2 separate regions of the Homo sapiens genome follow, and region 2 is linked to region 1. The links are contacts of gene promoters, found by promoter capture Hi-C in human tissues and cell types (Jung and others, 2019). All regions are on one chromosome and are shown on one strand. The core of a region is centred on a gene start or on the middle of the fragment in contact, and the rest is flanking DNA. Distances in the headings are between cores, read along the strand shown. Region 1 holds the start of CYYR1 (cysteine and tyrosine rich 1). Region 2 has its middle 97 kb from the start of LINC00161.

The links. Contacts are between HindIII fragments. The study calls those that stand out against the background at their distance.
Region 2: a fragment that was not itself captured here is called in contact with the fragment with the promoter of CYYR1 in region 1 in 1 of the 25 tissues and cell types used here (dorsolateral prefrontal cortex).

Annotation. Positions count from the first base shown.
Region 1 is chr21:26,571,991-26,575,520 of GRCh38, reverse strand. It overlaps CYYR1 (cysteine and tyrosine rich 1), which reads left to right and starts at 2,235. Exons shown (of 4, transcript NM_001320768.2): 1 at 2,235-2,653. The coding sequence starts at 2,581. The HindIII fragment of the contact is 7,865 bases long and covers 1-3,530 here.
Region 2 is chr21:28,440,947-28,444,639 of GRCh38, reverse strand. No RefSeq gene overlaps it. Among named protein-coding and RNA genes, the nearest start is that of LINC00161, 97 kb to the left of the region's middle. The HindIII fragment of the contact is 3,386 bases long and covers 1-3,278 here.

The sequences.
Region 1 (3,530 bases), core at 986-3,485:
CCTTCTTCTATCACAGCTACCAGCCCATCAAGGATCTGTATTCAGTCTCATCTGCAAAGACAATCATTTTTCTATTCCAAGCAGGCTGGATACCATTCTTCAGCTCTGCAAACACTGACTTCCATCTGTATCTTCTTCCTTCAAGACTCAAAGGGCTTGTATGCCTGGGATTTTCTCTAGGTTCCAACCATTGTCCCAGTTATTTAGAAATTGTGCTTCCCAGTGGAATGTTTTGATCAGGCTACAAGAATGACAGGACCTAGTGAACAAGTTCTTGAACACCCTGGATTAAATGTTTGAATTTTAACCTAAGGGCAACAGGATGCTACTGAGTGAGTGAACATGATGAAATCTGTAGTTTAAGAAGAAATATTCCAGCTTCAGTCTGGCAAACATCTCTGAAGGCAGGGAGGCTGAATATAATCAAGACTATAAAAGTCTAGATTAGGACAGAAATAGATGATAATTTAAAATGCGTTTGGGTGGTGTTCAGGTGGACAGATTAGGTGAACTTGGTGATAGATTGGCCAGCGAGGATGAGAAAAAAGGTGGAACTGATCAGCCTTCTTTAGAACATGGTGGATGGTTGGGCCTTCACCAACGTGTAAAACACAGTAAAGAGCTTAGCTTATGTTTATTTTGGGGGTGATGTTTCCTCCCACTCTCGTATTCCCTTGCAGCACTGCATTTACAGGAAAAAATTCCTGGAAGAGAACTGACTAAATTAAGTACATGTGTATTTGAATTTTCGTACATATAACCACACCGTTTCCCTTAAGAGTTCATTTGGTTTTGTATTTGGTTGGTTTGATACATGAAAAGTGATGTCTCACTGTCAATTTTATTTCTATATTTATATTTATTTGTTTTGTATGAAGTGTCTATTAATATCCTTCCTCAGTTATCTCTTGGTTGTTTTTCCTATTGATTTTTTTAAGCTCAGTATAATAATGAGATTAGGACTTTGCATTGCAAATATTTTTGCCAGTTAAATGTCTGCCAACTGGAAGTATTAATTCTTATTTAGTCAAGTTGGTCAATATTTTGTTTTATGGTTTCTGAGTTTTTTATAATGCTTAGAAAAGGCTTCCCTATTCCACAATTATTTGAATGTTATCCTCTTATTTTTTAATCTAATATTTTCATAGTTGTATCTTAAATATGTAATTCATATAGAACTGATTTTGATGTAAAAAGATAAGGCTCCACAGATGGCTATTTACGGCCTCAACACTTTTCACTGAGTAACTCATCATTTCCCCTACTACTTTACATTGATATTTCTTTAAACCATAAATTAAATTGCTGTACATACTCATGTCTACTTTTGGGTTACCTTTTCTCTTTCACTAAGCCTATCTATTCCAATGTTAATCTAAACTGTTTTAATTATTGTGATATTATATGTAATATCCCATTCATTATTCCCATTCATTACTCTTGTTTTAAATAGATATTCTTACATATTTATTTTCCATATAAACTTTAGAATCAGATTGGTTTGAAAAAAATCATGTTATTTTAAAAATTGGGATCAATTTTATTTCCAAATGTATATAATAATTTGGGGAATCTTGTTGTCTTTATCCTACTAAATTTTCTTAGTGAAAAAAGTATCTCTTTACTTATTCGTATCATTTTTTTTCCTTCATGCATAACATTGAGAACTTTCTGATTTTTGTTTGCAGGAAAGAAAACTATTGGTTTGCTAAACAAGAGCTTTATAGTTGATTAACTTTGATTTTCCATGTATACACGTATTTCATTTGCTAATGACAATTTAGCTTTCATTTTTCATAAATCTTTTTCTTTCTCTTGTTTAATTGCATAGGCCAGTAACTCCAAAACGTCAAAATCATAACGACAGTGTGCACTGTTGTGTTTTTTTTTTCTGAATTTACAGGAAAAAATAATAAACATTTTATCAGCTTTCAGCAGAGATGCCATACACTTTCTGTACTTCCCAATCCTGAGTTTTCTTCACTGTCACTCTTTGTCGAATACCTTCAACCCTGAAAATTCCTTCCCTTTGTTTAAAGATAAAAAGCAAAGTTGTTCATCCATTGCTTAGAAAGGAAAAATTGTAGTGGAGGCAAGGTTAAAAAGGAGCAGGCTGAACTCCATAGCAATCGCCAAAGCAAGGGGTTAGGAAAAGTTTCTTGGTCCCCTAGTCACTCTTTAGAAGGAAGAACCCGGGCTTGGGGAGGAGTCGGGGCCACCCCCGCCCCCTGCCCGCAGTCGTTGCCACCCGCGGAGATGAAATGTGAGCCTGGGTGGCCAAGGACGCCGGAGTGGCCGCCTTCCCCGCGCCTGAGCGCAGTGGGGCGAGACAAAGAGACCTGGGCCCCCAGCGCAGCCCGTCTCGGGCCACGGGCGCCCCAGCTCCGCGGAGTCCCGCAGTCGCTGGCCCGGGACGCGCCCGGCCCGGGCTCCCTTGGAAGGCTCCCTAGGCAATGGCCGGGTCTCTGCTCCACCCGGCTCTCAGGAGCGCTGCTCTCTCCATCTGATCGCCCTCCATCCTCCCCATTCCCTCCGGTTCCGGGCTCTCCCTTCGCTCCAAGCCTCAGGCCACCGGCTTGGATGGACGCTCCGAGGCTACCCGTGCGTCCAGGGGTCTTGCTTCCGAAGTTGGTCCTGCTCTTTGTCTACGCAGGTCAGTGACGGAGGGCGGCGGAGAGGGTCAGAGGCTCGGGGCTGCCCTTGGGTCACGGTCCGGGCTAACGTGGGTTGAGCTGGACGGACCGGGACCTTTGCAGAAGGACCTTTGCAGACGCTTCTGCCTTTTCCGCGAGGCGACGGCAGAAACCCGCGCACTTCCAGCCGCACGCGGTTTTGTTTTGTTCCTTTTCCTTTAACTTTTACCTTTTGCATTTCTTTTCTTTCCCTTTCCACCTTGGAAATAGCAGTCTCGTGTTTAGGGGATTTGACTCTCTGGATAGAGTAAACTATATCCAAATAAACTTATCTGGATAGGCTAGGCAGTGGCCTCTCCATCTTCTGCTTTCTAAATAGTCCTGGTTTTCCCTCTTGTGAATAAAAAAAACTTAGAGCTTTGTTTTCGTTCTTTGGGAGATTCACAAGTGTGGTAGACTGAGCTATTGGACTGAAGTCAAACACAAGGTTTTTGAGAAGCATGAATTCACCCAGGGTCTAATCTGTACAGGTTCGTTGATTTAGATAGACACTTGTTTATAAGAGAAGGGCATCTGGTTTCCCTTCTAATTATTCGTAGTAAGAACTGCTAATAATTAACGAAGCAAAGTGGGTTTTCTTGTTTGTGATTAATATGGAGCCCCAAATGGCCTTTCATTGGTTATTCAGGTATAAAGTGTCTTACACACGTGGTCTTTGCATCAGTTCATATTCACAAAACAATGCAAGCTAAAAGCAAAGTTCTTTGTAAAATGTTTTTGTGTCTCTAACGTCCTATGACAAAAATCGCAGGCTCACCCCTGAGCCTCCAATACGAAATGTATATATAGCACTGAAATTTACCTTTGATACTCAAAAAGATATTGCAACTGAAATGA
Region 2 (3,693 bases), core at 336-2,835, 1.9 Mb before region 1:
GTATTTTAAAGTCAAAAGACTCCTAGATGATTTCTAGGTCTTTTGCAGCATTAACTTCCTTTGAATCAATGCCTTCAATGATTATTTAAAAGAAAAGAAAGAAAAAATCAGAAAGTAAAGAAATGGATTTAGCTAGTAACCTTTAAAGAAAGCCCTCTTTCATTCATTTTTCTTCAAAGATTTATGTGATTTTTTTCTTATCTTGATGTATAATAATAAGAATTAGCTGCAAAAAGCTACAAGAAAGGTTGCATAAGTGCATACATTCTTTTCGAGTTCTGCTTCCTGTGGTAGTTCTTCACTTTTAATGATGAGTTGCTGAAGCAGGCACTCATTCTTTTATTGCATCATTTATTCTTGTTATCTGGGGAAGTAACAATGACAAGCTTTCCTAAGTAACAGCCCAACTCTTATTTGTGGCCCCTTTTCCTATGTCAATATTAGGATCATTCTATCAACGAAGAGGTCCTATTACCTAGGAAACCATGAAAGGTAAGACCTATGATCACAGGTGCTTACATGCATGCAAATGTAAAAGGAATACTTAAACCCTCACCTAACTTCTTTGGAAGTTTCAGTACACAGTTTTTGTTGATAGGCAATTAAGGTGCGTGTGTGAGTGTAGTATGTGTTTTTGTAAGAAAAAAAGTAGAGGAAATGGGAGATAATTTAGTGTGCTGGAAAGTTATAGAATTTGATATCTTGTTTTGCATAGATGATGCATTGTAGGAGTGACATTATTGTGAAACTTTGTTCAGTCGGTTTTCCTTCAAGCGATTTTGGTGCAGTTTTTCCAATCCAGTGTTAAGGGCATGACGATGTATTTTTCACAAGCTTGTCTAAGAGGAAACTCTGACAGATTATGATGAGGAAAACTAAATCCACTCATGTCATGTAAACACATAGAAGACTTCTCAGTGGGGTCTCTGCCTTGTACCTCAGATGCCAAGGGGGAGTTTGAGATTTGTCAAGTTGTTGACAACTGCCTTAGTCCATTTTGTGCTGCCATAACAGAATGACACGGATGTGGTAATTTATAATGAACAGAAATTTACTTCTTGAGGCTGGGAAATCCAAGGTTGAGGTGCCAGCATCTGGCAAGGGCTTTCTTATTGTGTCATCATATGGTGGAAGGCAGAATGTCAAGAGAGAAGGAGGAAACCAATTTTACCCTTTTATAAAGGCACCCATTCCACATGTAAGGGTGAAGCCCTCATGGCCTGCCACCTTTTAAAGACTCCACCTCTTGATACTGTCACAATAGCAACTGCATTTCAGCATGAGTTCTGGAAGGGACAGTTTCCAAACCAGAGGAGCAATTGCCTATCAGAGGTTGCAAGAAAGAGGTATTTTACTATTATTTGAGCTACCATTTTTAGCTTTATCCATACTTTTAGAAATAGGTGTTTTATTGAACTCCAATTATCCAGTTTGAGAATGTCATAATTTTCTATTAGGAGTCTGGCTGATCTAGTCATTAAAAAAGACACATAATAAATGTATAAGCATGTTTTTAAATGGACAGTTTATAAGTTAGTTAATAATATTAGTGTTAATTACTGTTACCACTAAATAAATAAACCACTACATTTTATGTTCTTTCAACAATCTGAAAAAAATATTTTGTAAAAAATTACTGTAATGCAAAATTTGGCTTAGTTAGCAACAGAGAGGGTAAATATCTGCTTTAAAGATCACAATGTCTGATGGCTATGAAACAGATGAGAAGTTTTGAGAAGATGACATCAATATGGTGTTGATTGGTTTCATGTGGCTTTGAGCTTTTCTGCCACTGGGAAGATCACTACTGTACATAGTTTACATATGATTCATGTGTGATGCCAGATTGCAGCTTCCTTCTTGCTGTATCTTAAGTGTACTTGGTATTCTGATTCAAGAGTGAGATCTTGAAGCTTTGGCAAATAGAATTGCCTAATTTTCATTTGTCCACTAAGCAATGCATGCAGTTAAAAAAATGAAAACAATACCAAACCTCCTTCTTTTGCAGTGAAGGAGCCCAAAACAAGTTACTCTCTTTCCGTCTCTCTCTTTAACTTAGAATATTGGTTATTTTGTATTCTCACACATGTAAAATTCCTTTCCTTTAATGCATATGTTCTCAATAAAAAAGAATTTTCCACTGAATTTCCAGGAAGACTCAACATAATTTAAAGATGGCACCTTACAAAAAGAACTCTCAATAGACAAGAAGAGGAGGCAGTAATAAACAATTATTTTCAAGACAGAGTTACCTAAAATCTTTCCTTGGTTTCTTACCGGCTACAGGACACTTTTCAAACTCTTTGGTTTCACTTTGACAAACTTGCTTCTTGCAATTCTCCTAAGGTTGTGTGTATACAACCACGTGGGATGTGGTGAATTTAGTCGGCCACAATGTAATAGTCTCTTCTCTATACATAAAATTAGATTACTAAAATCCCTATGTAAGAAACTTACAATCCCGCCAGGGAAAATTAGGATTGGGGAAATGAGATAATTAGTTAATCTCTCAAAAATCTGATGAACATAGTTTATGTTTTCTAAAATAGAGCCATGAAAACAGCCCACCAAATAATGAGAATGTCAATATCTCACACGTTCCTTCATTTGGTAATTAATAGCATGGAATGGATATATATTAATTTATCATTCTTTGATCTCCAGTGACTTTTCAGTATCTCTGTTCTCCTTTTTCCATATATTAAATACAGAACTTATACATTTGTTTTGTTTGATGGTGTTAATCTACAGTGCAGAAGAGTCCCTGTGTTTGTCCACTGTCTAATTTTCAAAGCCTCTCTGATTTTATGATTTTAATTTACCTTTTATCAGTGTGGTTTCACCGCATTTCTGCAGACATTCATGTGGATGCCTGAGCTGAAAAACTAACCTCACGTAGTCTTTATTTCTCAACTTGCATTCCCCAGTGCAGGGCCCAGTGGTGCCAATTCTGAACATAGTAAATTTACAAGAAAGCCCTTCCTCACCTATAACTTCAGGGATGTTTTCACCCATAAACCAAAACACTCAATTGCAAGGTTTGGGGATAATCTTCTCCCAGCTCTCTTTCTCTCTCCTACAGTTTCATTGCATTGCCTCATCTCTCTTTTATCTTTTCCCTTATGAGTTATTTCAGCTTCCTTTTCTTAACTTCTAGTTTCCTATTTCTCTAATAATCTAAGTCAGGGAGAAGTGTAAATTCATGTGCATGGAAACTAAAATTTCCCCGAGGATATAATGTACAGAGTAAATCCATCTTCACTAGAATTTTAGAACTTGAGATCGGGCATGTGTGATTATTCTACACATTTTTAATGGGTCTCTGTGCTTTCACATGTGATTTTGCCTCTTCCAAAAACAGTCTTTGTGTTCTTCACCATCTGGGAAATGTGTTTTCATCCATGTAAACCCAAATCAAATGCCATTTCCTTTATGGAAAATTATCCAGCTTCATCAGGCAGAATAATTAGCTCCTCTGTAGGCAAATAGCTCCTTGGTCTATTTTTGCCAAAGCAAGAACATCTTATTTTCCATACCTACTATGTGCTTGGCATTGTATCAGTACACATTTCTATTAGTGCATTCTAGCACTACATATTTTCAGGCCTATCTTATGTGATTGGCTTTGAGCATTTCCAGAGCAAGTATATTTTTGCTTCTTATACCTACCTCAGGATTTAACATAGTGGTGTC